Linked DNA regions of Homo sapiens: regions 2, 3, 4 and 5 are each linked to region 1. Evidence: promoter capture Hi-C in 16 types of primary human blood cells and fetal thymus (Javierre and others, 2016). All regions are on one chromosome and are shown on one strand. The core of a region is centred on a gene start or on the middle of the fragment in contact, and the rest is flanking DNA. Distances in the headings are between cores, read along the strand shown.

Region 1 (3,127 bases), core at 407-2,906:
TCCTTTTCAGCCCTGGGCACAAGAAAACAAAACTGAGCTAAACACTTTTTTGGTGAAAGCCAAAAAACCACTCATGAATGCTAATTATCCAGCATTCGCCTGTTTACATGTACGTATGATCAGAGGGTACACTTCATCCTCTTGGGTATTCATTCATTCCCATATTCACACATACTTATTAGGTGTCTATTATGTGGCTGACACATGGTAGGGGTTACAGAGGTAAGACACACAAGGTTCCTGTCTACGTGGGAAAGAGACAATAAACAACACAGTGGTAGGCACTGTTAAGAAGAGAAGAGAGAATATTGGAAGTGAGGCACATTTCAGTTACAGTGGACAGATGACATTTGAGTAAAAAACTGAATGAAGTAAAGAAACTCATCATGTGACAATCTCAGTGAAGAGTATTTCAGATTGATGAACTCACACTCCAGGTTGAAGAACAAGAGGCCTGTTTAGCTAGAACAGTATGAAAGAGGTGGAGAGGGGCAGAAGATGAGGTCAGAAACATAGGCAAGGTCTGCTCAAGGGTCTGACGAGATTTTATTCTTAATGTGATGGGAAGCCACTGGAATGCTTCAAATACAATAGTGACTTAAGGGGTTTACCTTTTAAACAAGCTCTCCAGCTCCTGAATCAGAATACATGAAGTCTCCACGTGTGCTTTACAAATATTTTTGTAAAGAAGTCTCTACTAGGTGCTTTACAAATATTTTATCATTAAAAAGTAATTACTTGTGCTAACTTTGAAATCCCAAATAAGTGGATGGGAATCCTGGCTTCACTACCTACCAGCTGTGTGATCTTAGTCACCTTAATATCCCTGGACTCAATGTCCCCGTCAGTAGCAAAGAAATTATTATAATTTCCTCGATTACTTGTGAGATCAGGGATTATTCACTCATTTGTTTATTCGAAATATTTAGTGTGCCAGGAACCATGCTAGTTGCAGAGAAAAAAAGGGTACAGCCTCTGCTATCAGGAACTTACCGTCTAGCGGGGAAGACTTGATACAAATCAACCACGTACAGCCGTGTGCAGGCTAAGACAGTTTATAAAAGGATGTGGTAAGGGAACAGTTTGGGAAGGCTTCTCTGAGCAAATGAAGTTAGTGTATACAAAACTCAGTATACACTAGGTATTTGTATTATTGCTACTAGTCGCAGGTAGGGTTCAAATCCTGGCTCTGCCATTTACTAGCTTTGCAAATTTCTCCTTTTGAGCCTCAACTTCCATGTCTGAAAATGAGGACAACAGTATGTAGCTATAGGGCTATTGTGATAATTACATGAGATACCCCCTGTTAAGATTACTGTCCAGTGAATGGCAATAGTCAGCACCCATTGAATGTCCACTCTTAATACTGTTGTTAATTTTGAGTCCTCTGAATGGAATAAAAGACCGCAGCCAGGTCTGGAACTCCGCTGGCTCCCCCTTCTTACTTCCTCTCGTTTTCTGGGGTCGTCAAATTCCCACCACCCCCGGTCGCCAAGAGCCGGCCCACATCACTGACCTTCTCAACCTTCTTCGGCCCCTTCACCAGTTCATGCCTCTTGGGGATTGTTCCCCCGTCGCAACCCATCGCAGGACGGGAGTCAGAGCCAGCAGCAAACCCCCAAAGCTGTCACTTCCGGGATTTCCGGCGAAATCCGCAGCCACTTCCGGCGCACCGCCGTGACGCAGCACGCTGGTCGTGGCGTAGCGGGGCGGGGCGGGGCGGCACGCTAGGCGCGGCGTAGCGGGGCAGGGCGAGGCCGTTACCAAGTGCCGGTTGTCATGGAGAGCGTCGCTTGGAGGCTGGGCGTGGGCGGGTTTCCTCGTTCCCGTGAGACCCTGGGTTTCTGCTGCACAATCGGAATCACTCGCCCACGCTCCGGGAGGGCAGCGAGGGCGTGGGCGGCCCGTGCGCATCCACCGCTCTTTGACCCTATCCCACGCCAGCTTGTGTGGCTGCGGAGCGGGCACATCCCTGGACTGAGAGCGCCTTGAGGAAAAGGGCCGCCCTCCTGTTTCTGCGATTAAGGATGCCTATGAACGGAATCTGCTGTATCAATGGACATTTTTGTGTTTAAAAGGAGAACGCATCTTTCTTGAGCGCCAACTGTGACTCAAGCACTCACAACAAATCTTGTGAAGTGATGTTACAACAGATTCTAGGAAGTAAGACCCTCCCTTAAGGCCTGGAACTTTCTGGTGTTGCCATGCATATTGTAGATGGCATGTGTGTGAAATTTTGCATACAGTTTGTGCGTGTGTGTATTTCATTCACAGTTTCCTGAAGCCCAGGCTAAAAAAATTTTATTAACAATCAAGTATCATTAATAGACGATATAATAGTTCTTATAAAATATACACTGATGTTGCCATGCCCGTTCCAAGAGTCAGGCTGTATTTTATCTATAAGAACACAAATCCCTTGCTAAAAATTCATGATTGTCTGTCTGCTCTTAGGCGATTGTCTATCTCTCTGTTTGTTCCTTTAATTATTATAAATATTATGGGAAAGTGCCTATAATCCCAGCACTTTGGGAGGCCGAGACGGGAGGAGCACCTGAGCCCAGGAGTTCCAGGTCAGCCTGGACAACATGGTGAGACACCATCTTGAAAGAAAAAGAAAAATTAGCCAGGCGTTGTGGTAAGCTTTTGTAGTCCTAGCGGCTCCGGAGGCTGAGGGGGTAGGAAGGATTGCCTGAGCCCAGGAATTCAAGGTTGCAGTGAGCTTATGATTATGCCACTGCACTCCAGCCTAGGCAACAGAGCAAGACTCTGTCATTAATATGTATGTATGTATGTATGTATGTATTTGTACATATATATGATGGGAAAATTTCTCCATTGCCAAGAAGGCAGATCTTTATGATTGGATATTACCCTATTGACCTACGTGAAACATAAAAACGCTGAAAATATTTTTTACTTGGGAAGAGTTGCCCAGAAAATACGTGGATGTGGAAACTTCAAGGGCTATATGTAAGCTTGGGGTACTTGTTACTGTGATTAATGAGAATTTTAAAAAATAATCCCTTTAATTAGTTGGTCTCTGATTGATTTATGATTTATTTCTATGCTAACCACAATAACTGTAAGCTCTATGAGGGTAGGGACTTCATTTTGTTTTGTTTTG
Region 2 (3,127 bases), core at 347-2,846, 1.9 Mb before region 1:
TCTGAAGTCTGGGTTCAAATGTACCATTTGCCAACTGGGTAACTTTGGGTAAGTTACCCTACACTACTTCCCAATAGGACATATAAACTGGAGAGCCTCTGGCCATTCATTCATTCATAAATACCAACTGAGCATCTACTGTGAGTCCGGTGCTAGCGATATAGTGGAGACCCGGCCTTCCAATCTAAAGTACGCTTCCATGGAGTCAGACTGTTCCATTTCCTACACAGCACTTAGCACTATCTGCAATGATCTTGTGTGTTGGTTTGTCTGTCCTCGTCGGAAGGTAAGCTCTGTGAGAGCAGAGGCCTTATCTGTCTTGTGCATCCATCACCTCCCCAGAGCCTCCCACATCACTGGATACACGCAAAAAGAAAGAATGAGCATGTCAGACAAGAACTTTTACCTCGTGGCCCTGGTGAAGGTAGGAAAAAAAAAAAAAAAACAAAAGTAACAACATAGAAAACATAAAGGCACAAATTACAGAGGTAATAGTATCTGGGAGAAACCAGGGTCATGGCTTCCCATCGCCGCAGGTGTTGCTCCAGACAGCTCTGCGGAGAAAAAGGATCCCAGCACCGTGGCAGCCTCCTTGCACCGCAACCAGGAGACAGCATGAGGGACGCAGTGAAAGGAAAATGGGCCCAATCCCATCAGAAGTCCTGAGGAGGTTCATTTGTTGGTTCAACATGTTCATCTGTTGGTTCAACAGGTATTTATTTACTAGGCGTATAATGTGTGCTGGGTACACAGCAGCGAACTGACAAGAGCCTGTCCTCATGCAGTTTCCCTTCTAGTATTGAAACAGTGATTTTGGGTATGAAAAGTGCCGTGCTGACCACGAAACAGTGACGGAATAGGGAATGACAGCAGGTGTGCACGGTGGCTGGGTGGTCACAGCAGGCCTCTCTGAGCAGCTGACACCTCAACTAAGCCCTGAGGTCAACACTGTCACGGAGCAGGGGAAGAAACTTCTAGGCAAAGGCAGCGGCGGAGGCTCACACTAGAGAGGATCACAAACTGGTAAGTTACAAAGTGACAAGTGCCTCGAAGGCAAGTCCCAGGAGGCTGGGGGTCGGGGAGGAGGCGCAGGCCCCGGCTCCCGCACCAGCCCTCTCGGGTCCCGGCCACTCCGGGCAGTTCTGGGGAGCGCGGCGAGCGCCAAGGCCCGGCCCGGCCTCGCCGCCCCCCGCGACAGCGCCGTCGGGGTGGGGACGAGGGCCGACGTCACCCGCCGCGCCGGGCTCCGTCCTTCCAGCACTGGGGCGGAGGCCGCGGGCAGGAAGGTGGCGGCCTCTGGGGCTTACCTCGGAATTTGAGCTCGTGCTGCGGCTCGAGGCTCAGGACCTGCTCCACCTTCGCCATGTTCCTTAGCGGCGGAGCACCTTTGGCGGGGAGACCCCTGAGAGGTCACCGGGGCGGGAAGCGTTAATGCTGCGCCCGCTTTAAGTTTTACAAAAAGGCGGGGACCGGTCGGGGCACGGGCGGGGGTCCTCTACCGGGTGGGCGCGCTGGGGGGGGGTCGGTCTACGCGGTGCAGGCGCAGGGGCGGAGGGCGAGGGCGAGGCCGCGGTGCCCGGCGAGCTGACGGCACGCACGCACGCACGCACGCACGCAGAGTCGTACACACGCACGCACGCAGCAGGCTGGCCCGCTCTGGCGGCGGGAAGCTGCGCCCTGCGCCGCCGGCTCCAGGGGCGGGGACTAAAGCTGCGCGCGTAGAGCCCCTTCCGGGACAGTGCGCAGGCGCGGCACAAGCCACGGGGGCGGGACTGCGGGGCAGTAAGGGGCGGGGCTTCGGGCCGCTCAGGAGGCGGGGTCTGTAGTCCAGCTACGACAGCCACCGCGGAAACTATTAAGGGCCCGCTGGGGGCCAGCTTCGTGTTAAGTGCTTTATTCAATAATAACAATTAGAATAAACTTCCACTTTTCTCTTGCTTATGTAGTGCCAGGCACTGTTAGAGACTTTGAATAATAGTGAAAGTACTTAGTATAAGTATAATGTTTATGGGTGAGTGATATGGGCTAGGCACTGTGACGTCTTGTAAATAATAATTATAAATATAATAAACTACCAATTATTGCTTATTTATTTTGTATCACTCTACTGAATGCTTCCAATAACAACAGCAACTACAATAAATACAAGCTACTCTACGTTAAATGTTTACTATGCAACTGGCACTGTGCTGAATTCTTTACTAGTAAATTCTATTTGTTTATGCAACAAATATTTAGAAATACAATGATCAGAAAAGCGAACCTGATTCCAATCCTTTTACTATAGCCTAGTGAAGAGACATCTTTTGAATAAATAACCACACACGTAAGTTAAATAATTAAAAATTGCTGGAGAATCCAGATCTGCTTGACCTCAAAAGTGGATACTCTACATCATGATTACCGTTTAAATTGTATTTCATTATATTATGTTTACTATGGAAGTTAAATAGGTGTTCTTAATAGTCTCCTATACATACCCATATAGGTGAGACAAATGTGGCAAATTGCTAGCAATGGCTGACTCTACATCGCAGGTATATGGTTTTCTTGTACTGTTTCTCCCACTTTGCTGTATACTTGAAATTTTTCATGATAAAAAGGTTTTTTAAAAGAATAGTCTTTGTATTTTAACTGGAGCATTTAGTCCATTTACATTTATTATATTTACTGATATATCTGGAATTATTTCTACCATTGTATTTTGTTATTTCTATTTGTCCTGCCTGGTTTTTTTCCCCTTTCCTTTCTTCTTTAGGGTTTATTTTTATTCTCATTCTGATTTTCTTCACCTGTATACTCTATTTCTAAGTTTTAGTGGTTACTTCAAACTTTTGGGCATGCATACTTACCTTGTGAAAGTCCAATATCTTTAAATATTTGTAAAAATGTCTTTACCCTGTTTCCTTAAAATATAAAGACTTTGGAGTACTTTAATCACCCATCCTCTAAATTATACACCTTAATGTAGTGTATGTTAAGTTTAACCTTTGCCACTGTAACCCCAAGAGACATTACTAAATTGTTTTATTCAGTCAACATTAGTTTAGATTCAGCCACACAATTACCATTTTTATCCACCTTTTCTTCTTGCATCTCAGCTTTCACCAACAGGATCACTCTCCTT
Region 3 (3,127 bases), core at 362-2,861, 1.8 Mb before region 1:
TCTCACCCCCAACAAGTCCGAAGATAATTTTCCTAAAATACACAGATCCTCACTGGACTCTTTCAAGTCCTTCCAGAGATGATGCGAACCAGCGACTCAGAATTCAATGACTACAAAGCGCAGGGCCTACACCTGTAACACACTATGTATTTGGAAGGATTTTCAATGCACCTTTAGATGTGTATCAAATAAAAGTCTCTTACCCTATTGTTGGGTTGATGTTTGGATCAAAACTGTCTTCCACAAACCGCCACACAATACTCGATTTACCTACACCTGTATCCTGAAAGAGAACGAGATGAGGGACTGAGAAAAAGTTTACCTTTTGGCAGACACCAAAAACTACTTTGTGGCATAAGTTCAGGATTTTAGAAAAATCACCCTAGACGTGTAAATTTTATAAACGGAGGAACACAAAAGCGGTTGTCATAAAAATTCAGTAGAGTAATTAGGAAATTCCAACTGTACTAAAAGGGAGAGGTTTTTGCCGTTAAGACAGATTAGGACCTTTTGAGAGACCCAAAGTTTCTGCTTCGTGTAAAAAGTAACAAGTCCACTTGCTTTTTAACATATGTTAGTAAACTTTGAACTCCTGAGTTACCTCTGAGTAATCCCTGATGAATCCTAGCCCCACCCTATTTGGGGGAATAAAGATTAGTTATTGGAGTTCCTGCCGATCTTTAAGGCAGAAACTCTGGAATGACAGCATCAATTTCAGAAAGAAGGCTTTGAAATGGCCAACACCTTGTCTTTCCTGACAAGACAGGAAGCTGAAGCTTCAAACTAGTCTTTGGGGCTTCCTGATTTGAACACCCCTTTTCTCCACAGGAAGAGTTACTTGGCAAAGTAACTCTTTGGACAAGTGGCAGGGGTATCCCACAAGTTCAAAAACACCCAAGAGACAAAGTAGGCTAATGCTGCTTGTAAAACCTAAAGACCTGTTATTGGTTTTACTTTGGAAGACTTGGCCAACTCCCAACTAATACCTTGGTAAGTTGGGAGAAAACTATTTAAGAACCTCTCTTAACCCAGATGCAATAGAGAGGCAAGGGGGGGCTGTTTGCTCTTTGTGGGGCGGGAAGAGTCCACGGGCTCCAGGGAGGGGAAGGGGAAGGGTCCCTTCGGCCTCCAGGACCTTTTCGAGAGTGCAAGAGGTGGGCGGGACGGCTCCCGAGCTGGAGGGAGGGTCCACGGGGCTGGCAGACAGCGTCTTGGACGTGGGAGGGGGGAAGGGATGAGGGGACAGGGGGGATCCGGGGTCCCCGCCAGCCCAGCCTCCCGTGGCCCTCCCGGCCGGACCCGCCGCCACTCACCCCGAGCAGACACACTTTGAGCTCCCTCAGCGCCATGGCCCGGGAGCCAGGGGCGCGGGCCCGCCGCCGCCCTAAGTTGAGAAGGGAGAGGCCAGGCCCAGCAAGAGCATCCCCTGGCGCCGCTGCCGCCGCACGGCCCAGCCCCGGTCCGCGCAGAGGCGGCTGCCGCCCGTCCTCCGGCCGTAGGTCCGGCCTGTCCGCTGCCAGCCGCGTGGGGCCCGCCTTAGCAGCCGGGACGCCGCCGCGGCCTTCCGGGAGCCGCCGCCGCCGCCATCTTGGGACGCCGGCCGCGTCACCTGACCTCCCCGCCCACCTCGGCAGCCACCTTCGCTGAGAGGGCGGGGCCGGCCGGCCGGCGCGGATCGGGGGCGGGGCCCGAAGCCGACGGCCCCGCCCCTGTCTGCAGGGCCCCGCCCCTGTCTGCAGGGCCCCGCCCCTGTCTGCAGGGCCCCGCCCCTGTCTGCAGGGCCCCGCCCCTGTCTGCAGGGCCCCGCCCCTGTCTGCAGGGCCCCGCCCCTGTCTGCAGGGCCCCGCCCCTGTCTGCAGGGCCCCGCCCCTGCCGGTCCCGCCTCCATGCCCATCCCAAGATGGCGGGTGAGTGGGGCTGGGCTCGGGGGATGCCAGGGGTGCCCCTCTCTCTCTCGCCCCGTGACCACCCCGCGAGGCCGAGGGGCCCCTGCCCGACCCCGTCCCCTCTCGCCGCAGCCCCCTGGTAACTTCTTGTGTGTTTCTTGGTTTTCAGAGATCCCCCTGTACTTTGTGGACTTGCAGGATGACTTAGACGACTGTAAGTAAGAGTTGGGGCACCCCTGTCCCTCCCTGGGACCCTCTCAAAGAATTCAGAGTGCACGAAGCGCGGGGCGGGGGAACCTCAAGCCAGGCACTCCTTGTCGGGACCAGAACAGCGGGACCCCCAACTGCCTAGATCCACTGGTGGCGGTCCCTCCTCCCTGGGCGGGGCGGGCTGAGGGTGGGAGCCCTTCCCTTCCCTCGGGGGAAGGATTTTTGTTGTTGGGGAAACTTTGGACTCCCTGTCACTTCTTTTCTTCCTGCGCCTGCAGCTGCCGTGGGATGGGCGGAGGGGGTAGTCCCAAGTCCTAGTCGACCCTGGGCGGGCGGGGGGTCCGCCACCTGGGAGGTGGGTGACTTCCCTCTCAGGGCCTTGCCCTTTTCCTAGGGACTTTTTAGGACTGCTGGGGGGTTTGGGAGGTCCCCCTCTCGGTGTGGCCGGTCACGGAGTTGCACGGACTTCTCAAGTGTCCTGGCCACAAGCCCGGCTCCATCTCTTATCCCATGGAGCCCATTGGCCCCCGCATTTCTTGGGTGGGACCCTTGTCCCTTCTTGCCCTCTTTTTTGGAATCATGTTAAGGGCTGGTAGCTGGGGGAGGTGTCATCTTAGAAATCCAAGTTCGCATTTCTGGTGAAGGAAGGAAGCGTTTTCTCTCCTGTCAAGAAACTTACTGAGCAGCTATTTGCTCTGGGGGCCACGTGTTGGGCTCCGAACCTGCAAGGATGTGTTGAAAACAGCTCTACACGCAGGGAGCTCACAGGGTGTGGGGAGAGCCTACTTGTAAACAGAAAATTACCGAGCACCGGAGTGCTTGCTGGTGAAGAAGCCCTATATAAATCATCCAAATAGCTAACATTAATTGGGGGCGTACTGTACGCCAGTCATATACAGTACTTCCTCTCATCTTTCATTCCACATCTTCAGGTTTCCTAATAGTAAGAGTTGGTGTTTACTGAAAACTTACCATGGACCAGACAGCGTTAAACTCTTTTTTTTTTTTTTTTTTTTTTGAGACGTAGTCTT
Region 4 (3,127 bases), core at 397-2,896, 1.2 Mb before region 1:
AACTGGGTGTCCTGTATTTAATTCTCGCAGTCCTGGGCACACACGAAGCCTCCTATGAGTGCTGGCAGTCCAGCCTATGCTCCTTCCAAAGCAATTCTCCTTTCCTACTGCCCCGTCAGGGGCCCTGTCTGTGCTGGAATCATCATTGTCCTCAACTGCAAAATGGAAAATAAAATGATAGTGGTTCCTCCCTCCCGGGGTTGCCAAGATGATTAAATAACATAACAACTAAGATGTATCCGGCCCCTTCTCCTCTACTTGCAAGGCATCGATCCCTTCATTCCTCGCAATCACACCACGTGAAGGTGCCATGAAGCCACCCCATTTTGCAGAAGAGGAAACTGAGGTTGGAGAGGTGAAAGCACTCAGCCGAGGTCACACAGCTATGTCCCACTCATCTTTGGGTGACCCTCAGGTTCGGACCCTGAGGTCTGAACACTGCATTAAGCTCTCCAGACAGAATCAACTTCGGAACTAGCGCCAGAGACCACTAAGTCAATCCCAGGTGACACCATCAGCACTCAATAAATGGTAGCCACTGCCGGTGTCGCAGATGGATCAATGGGAGGTCAAGCGTTGTGGGTAGGTTTGGTTTCTTTAAGCCACTGAATTAACTGGTTATTTTTGCCTGCTGGCAGTGCAGCCTCCATTGTGTAAATGCCATCTCACTTCCAAGACAATCAACGTGTGACTTCTCCCAGCCAGACTAGCCAGGTCTCCCGAGACTTCCCGGAGGGCAGGGGCTGTGTCTGGAGTGGCTGAATTCCCCGGCTCAGGGTTGCAGCTCAGCCAGTTTGTTGATTGAATGAATGAAGAAATGGCTGAAAGCAGGGGTGGTAATGATGACCTCCTTCACCCTAGGAAGTGAATGGGACCCAGGTCATCTCCAGGCCCAGCCAGTATTTGCAGTGGCACCCCAAGGGATGCTGGGGGACCCCTTAGCTTTTCTCTTAAGTTGCAGCGGCCAAACTGCAGCAATATCTTCCCTGATAAAAGACACGCTGGTGGTATTGCCCCTTCCTCAAGGCAGGGGCTGAGGGCGCCCAGTTCACAGCAGGGTGCCATCTGGGGTAGACGCTGGGTATTGCCCCACTCCTGGGCCGGGGCCTGGGTCCTGACCTAGTGCTGGCTGTGGCTCCAAGAGTGAGCTTCTCCTCCCAAACAGAAGACGGTCAGTGCCTCTGAACCTCCCTCTGGGCTGGGCACGCTTGGACTCCTCCAAAGAGCTTGGACCAGCCTGAGCCACATCCCTGGGCTTGACTTCTCCAGAACAAGCCTCCTGGTCTTTCTGGGAGAGCTCTGGCAGCATCACTGTGCCTGTGCAGGGAGAGCGGGAACCCACTTCCTGCACCGGCTTTCTCTGAGTTCTTCAGGATGAATTCGCTCTGGTCTAGGTAAGTTCTACCCCGAGGCCACCTTCACTTCCCAAATTCCAGCTTTTCCTTCTCTATCCAAACTGTTACAAACACAGTAACAATAATTTTTAAAAGCTTTTTTTTTCTCTGAACACACTAAGTCCCTGCTAATTACTGAAACTCCAGGCATTACAGGAATATGTGGACACTTAAAGAATCAGGACTACGTGGGAGAGGGGGAGGCAGCTCCCCAGGGTCCTGGGTTGGCACACAGGCTCCACCACTGTGTGACTTTCAACAAGCGACTTCCTTGACCAGCTGCCCGCTCTGTAAAATGGGGAGAGTAATATTCGGCCACACTGAGTCGGTGTCAGGTTGAGTTAATATTTGGAGAGTTTCTGGCACAGGTAGGTGCTCCTTAAGTGCCTGTTAAATAAGTGAAGCTTTGAGAAAGTGTCTAAAAGGCGACACACTAAATTTTTAAGAGGCTGGAGGTGGGCCAGGGAGGGGAGGTCTCTTATGTAATATTTTAATATCTTTTTAAACCTGAAGAATGTGTTCTTGTAGCACTCCTGTAATTAAAACTTAATGAACTAAAAGTACACCCCTCCTGCTCATACCCCTTTTGAACTCCGCAGCCGCGCCCCCCAGCCGGAGGCCCCTTGGGCAGCAGACAATGGGTGTGGATTCGCCCCAGGTCCCGCCGGCTGGGGCGGCGACAATACACCAGTCCCCGACAGCTATTTACATGACAAGGGCTTCCGGGCGTGTCTACGCGAGTTCCCGTCTTTCCTGGTCGTCCTCCTTGGGTTCGGGTGAAAGCGCTTGGGGGTTCAGTGGGCCATGATCCCCGAGCTGCTGGAGAACTGAAGGCGGACAGTCTCCTGCGAAACCAGGCAATGGGTGATCCATCTTGGGGGCTTCCTCCCCCTTTCTCCAATTTCTCTTCCCTGAGCCCCCAGGGACCTTGTGCTCCTCAGAAGATAGGCTAGCCCCAAGAGCCTGGGTCAAGGACCCCAGGGACGGGGGCGAGGGGAGGGCGCACCAGCAACCCGCCCGGGTGCGGCTGGCACCGAGTTCGGCTCCCCGGCCCCGGGCGTGCGCCGGGCAGGCGTTCCAAGCTGACCGCCGTTGGGGAGAGGGCACAGCGCCCCTCCTCCGTTGCGCGGGTGCCGGGTCTACGTGGGCCGCCTAGCTCTGGCCCTTTAAGAGCCCGCCCCGTTTCCCGTCACCCCGCCCCCCGGCTCGGGGAGGGGGTGCGGGGGAACCTCGGCGGGGATTGGCGCAGCGCGCGCCCCCTCCCCGGCCCCCGCGCGGTGGGAACCGGCAGCCCCGTCTAGCGCTGACGTCAGACCGTCTGCCTGCCTCCGACCGCGGTCTCGGAGCGAAACCCGATCTCCTTGGACTTGAATGAGGAGGAGGAGGCGGCGGCGGCGGCGGCGGCGGAGGCGCTCGGCTGGGGAAAGCTAGCGGCAGAGGCTCAGCCCCGGCGGCAGCGCGCGCCCCGCTGCCAGCCCATTTTCCGGACGCCACCCGCGGGCACTGCCGACGCCCCCGGGGCTGCCGAGGGGAGGCCGGGGGGGCGCAGCGGAGCGCGGTCCCGCGCACTGAGCCCCGCGGCGCCCCGGGAACTTGGCGGCGACCCGAGCCCGGCGAGCCGGGGCGCGCCTCCCCCGCCGCGCGCCTCCTGCATGCGGGGCCCCAGCTCCGGGCGCCGGCCGGAGCCCCCCCCGGCCGCCCCCGAGCCCCCCGCGCCCCGCGCCGCGCCGCCG
Region 5 (3,127 bases), core at 443-2,942, 1.0 Mb before region 1:
TTTATCATAGCTACGTTATAAAGTTTATTGTTTTCATATATTTGATTTTTTAAAGTGAGTTGGCATGGCAGGCTCTCGGCGAGTTTAAGCTCTTATCCGTGTGACCATCTTCGCCCTCATTTGCATGCGCCCTGGAATTTCACGAGCACACCAAAAAATTAACCTGCAATTTCCCCATGTCCCTTTTGTCTTCCTGAGGCTTTATTTAGAAAGAAGTGGAAATCCAAGACCACTCTTGTAAACTAATAACAATTCATTTATTTGATGGGGGATTTAAATTCCTTACCAAATTGTTAAAAGCAACTCAATAAACAGTAATATTTCTAAGCAGCCACAATTCGCAGCATGGGGCGTCCTACCTCTGATTCAGACGGCAGAACATTTATCTTTCACGACCAAAGTCTCTCCCAGCAAAGCAAGGTGGTTTTGCAAGATCCTCTACCCAGAGTAACCAGACTCAACTCGAAAAAGTTTAATTTTGCCTCATCTCTGTCCACCTCCAAATGTGTCCAGCACGTGTGGAAATCGTGACGTTAAGGAGGAAGCGTCTGCTTGGGGAAAATTAAAACTCCAGAATCCCATTTAAATCTGGTGACAGAAGTTAGAGCTGGACTCTGAGTCAGGCCAGCCTGGCCTATTCCAGCCACCACCTCCCATTTGTAAGGAACACCAAGCTAGTCACCGTCTCCCAGCTTCATTTCCTCATCCTCTCTCCGTGCCTCAGTTACTGTCTCTGGAAACAGGCTGCCTCTGTGACCCCGGAGATCTTGAAGTGAGATAATACAGGGACACCGGCTTAGTACAGACCCTCGTATTTAATTAGTGGTAAGCAAATGTTTCCTATCATCATTGTTACTAATACTATTATGATTATTGCCGTCTACAGAATGGGGACAAGCTCACTGCGGCTGCAAGGGGACCTGGGAATACAGGGAGCAACACTGGGTGGCAGCTGCCCTTTAAAAGCAGCTCTAGAAATCTGGACCGAGCTGTGAACAGGCATCCAGGGTGCCGCGGGGAGTGAATGAAACGCCGAAGAAGAGACATCTCAGAAGGGCTGTAAAAGGAAAAGAGAAGGGAGGCTGAGGAGGGCGGAGCACTTGAGGTCAGGAGTTCAAGACCATCCTGGCCAACATGGTGAAACCCCGTCTCTACTAAAAATACAAAAATTAGCCGGGTGTGGTGGCACGTGCCTGTAATCTCAGCTACTCAGGAGGCTGAGGCAGGGAGAATAGCTTGAACTCAGGAGGTGGAGGTTGCAGTGAGCCAAGATCGTGCCACTGCACTCCAGCCTGAGTGACAGAGCGAGACTGACTCAAGAAAAAAAAAAAAGAAGGAAAAGAGAATCCTTAGGAAAGAGAATGGGACTGCAAAGGCAGGAGAAAACAGGGTCTCCTTCCCCACAACACACATGGCCAAGCAGAGCCCACAGTCTATACAACTGAGGTGGGAGCTGGGTGGGGCCTTCTGCTGTCACCTGTCATGGTCATAACAGGAATCGCAGTTACCAGAGCCCCTGTGGATGTCCCAGGCACCCCTTAAGCCAAGTGGTTTATACCAATTATGTTGGATTGATTTCATCTGTAATCTTCATACCTGTCCTGGGAGGAAAATGCCATCATGATCCACCTTTTACAAATGTCAAAAGCAAGGCACAGAGAAGTTAAGAAACATATCCCAGGTCACACAGCTCAAAGATGGAGCTGGGATTTGAGCCTGGGCAGGGTGATGCCAGAGTCCACCTGCTCGACTGCCCTGGATCTGCCCCAGCCGCCTTCAGAGAACGGGTGCTGATGGCCCCCTCGGCTCTAGGTCTCAGTGGAAAACCACCCTTGGCCATTTGGTGTTTAACTCCCAGATTCCACTCTGTCCTCTGTTGCGGCTGGGATCAGGGCTGTGAGGCACTTGCTTGGGCCTTGGGTGGGAGGGGGCGTGTCTGGGGATGTGAGTGCCAGAAAGAGTGAATGGCCTTGGGAGCGGGACAGAGACAATCTAGGGAGGCAGGGACCCCCCGCGGGCCTGAAACCACAACGGCTGAAGCTGGGCGGGGGGAAGCCCGGACGGGCCCAGAGGTCTCCTCGGGATCCACGGAAGGAAGATGCTATGGACACGGCTTTCTGAAGTTTCCTTGGGACCCCAGCTCACAGCTGCCCTTCTGTGTCTGCACTGGCTACTTCAAAAAATTCAGATCTAGCAGAATTTGGAGCATAATTTCCAAATGGCAATTCTGTTCCTAAAACTGAATCCAACCTGTTGCCTAATATAATCCCAGGAGCTCTTTACTGAGCCTCCAAAGAGGTCATTCCTCCAGCCCTGGGACCTGAATTCTGCCAGCGCCCAAGTGGGTAGGAAACAGAGGAACACAGCCCGGCAGACACCTTGCCCTCAGCCCTGTGAGTCTATTTCATGCTTCTGGCCTCCAGAACTGGAGGGGAATAAATGTGTGGTGTTTGAGTCACTACCTTTGTGGGCATTTGTTACAGCAGCAATAGGAAACAGGTGCATTTCCTCTGTCGTTTTTATTAATAGAATGTTAGTAATTTGCTGGTGTTGCTAGAGTTGCTGAGTGGCAAGCTGGGAACTTTACAGTCACTTCATCCGAGTCTGGCCAGCAGGAGGGACCCGGCTCAGAGGAGGAAGGACGTTTCCCAGGCCCCACAGGACCTGAAGCCTGGTCAGTCTGACACAGAAGATACCACACTCAGGCAGTACCCACCAGTGTCTCTACATCTTGATATGGTCTATGGCTAAAAATGAGACAATTCTTAGACCCATAGAAGGATTCTACTGAAGGAGACTCTAAAAACCTTTTAATCTGATTTTAGTTAGTCAGATGAGCAAAAAGAGGCCCAGAAGGATCAGGTGACTTGTCCAAGAACGCATAGCCAATTGCCTTAAATGGAATGATGCTGTTCCATTCAGCTCCTCCCCGTGGCCGGAACAGATCTGATTGAGTAGACTACAGCAGTATCCACTCTTGCCCTCTCTTGCCCTAGTTGTAAGACCCCCAGTTTTCAGGGGGTTGCATGGCCACCCAGAATAAAGACTACATTTTCCTTGCAGTGAGGTATGGCCACGTGAAACAGGGAGGTGAGCAGAAGTTTTCTCAAGTGTTCTTTAAAGGAAC

Evidence for each region. The method cuts DNA at HindIII sites, captures the fragments that hold promoters and counts their contacts. A CHiCAGO score of 5 or more calls a contact.
Region 2: a contact is called between the fragment with the promoter of VAPB here and the fragment with the promoter of RTF2 in region 1, in 1 of 17 cell types (neutrophils). The highest score is 6.1, in neutrophils.
Region 3: the fragment with the promoter of RAB22A here is called in contact with the fragment with the promoter of RTF2 in region 1 in 1 of 17 cell types (total B cells); the score reaches 5.5 in total B cells.
Region 4: a contact is called between a fragment that was not itself captured here and the fragment with the promoter of RTF2 in region 1, in 1 of 17 cell types (monocytes). The highest score is 8.2, in monocytes.
Region 5: a contact is called between a fragment that was not itself captured here and the fragment with the promoter of RTF2 in region 1, in 1 of 17 cell types (M0 macrophages). The highest score is 5.1, in M0 macrophages.

The regions. Positions count from the first base shown.
Region 1 is chr20:56,467,156-56,470,282 of GRCh38, reverse strand. It overlaps RTF2 (replication termination factor 2), which reads right to left and starts at 1,656. Exons shown (of 9, transcript NM_016407.5): 1 at 1,517-1,656. The coding sequence starts at 1,585. The HindIII fragment of the contact is 9,363 bases long and covers 1-2,645 here.
Region 2 is chr20:58,387,698-58,390,824 of GRCh38, reverse strand. VAPB (VAMP associated protein B and C) reads right to left here and starts at 1,596. Exons shown (of 6, transcript NM_004738.5): 1 at 1,308-1,596. The coding sequence starts at 1,365. RefSeq lists silencers at 1,068-1,187, 1,448-1,887. The HindIII fragment of the contact is 12,509 bases long and covers 1-3,127 here.
Region 3 is chr20:58,308,199-58,311,325 of GRCh38, reverse strand. RAB22A (RAB22A, member RAS oncogene family) reads right to left here and starts at 1,611. Exons shown (of 7, transcript NM_020673.3): 1 at 1,314-1,611; 2 at 204-283. The coding sequence starts at 1,349. It also overlaps the pseudogene PPP4R1L. RefSeq lists silencers at 1,213-1,542, 1,583-2,142. The HindIII fragment of the contact is 7,008 bases long and covers 779-3,127 here.
Region 4 is chr20:57,709,591-57,712,717 of GRCh38, reverse strand. It overlaps PMEPA1 (prostate transmembrane protein, androgen induced 1), which reads left to right and starts at 2,703. Exons shown (of 4, transcript NM_020182.5): 1 at 2,703-3,127. It overlaps NKILA (NF-kappaB interacting lncRNA), which reads right to left and starts at 2,535. Exons shown (of 1, transcript NR_131157.1): 1 at 1-2,535. RefSeq lists an enhancer at 38-649 and silencers at 2,302-2,421, 2,442-2,871. The HindIII fragment of the contact is 308 bases long and covers 1,493-1,800 here.
Region 5 is chr20:57,475,651-57,478,777 of GRCh38, reverse strand. No RefSeq gene overlaps it. Among named protein-coding and RNA genes, the nearest start is that of CTCFL, 48 kb to the left of the region's middle. RefSeq lists an enhancer at 1,976-2,476. The HindIII fragment of the contact is 7,583 bases long and covers 1-3,127 here.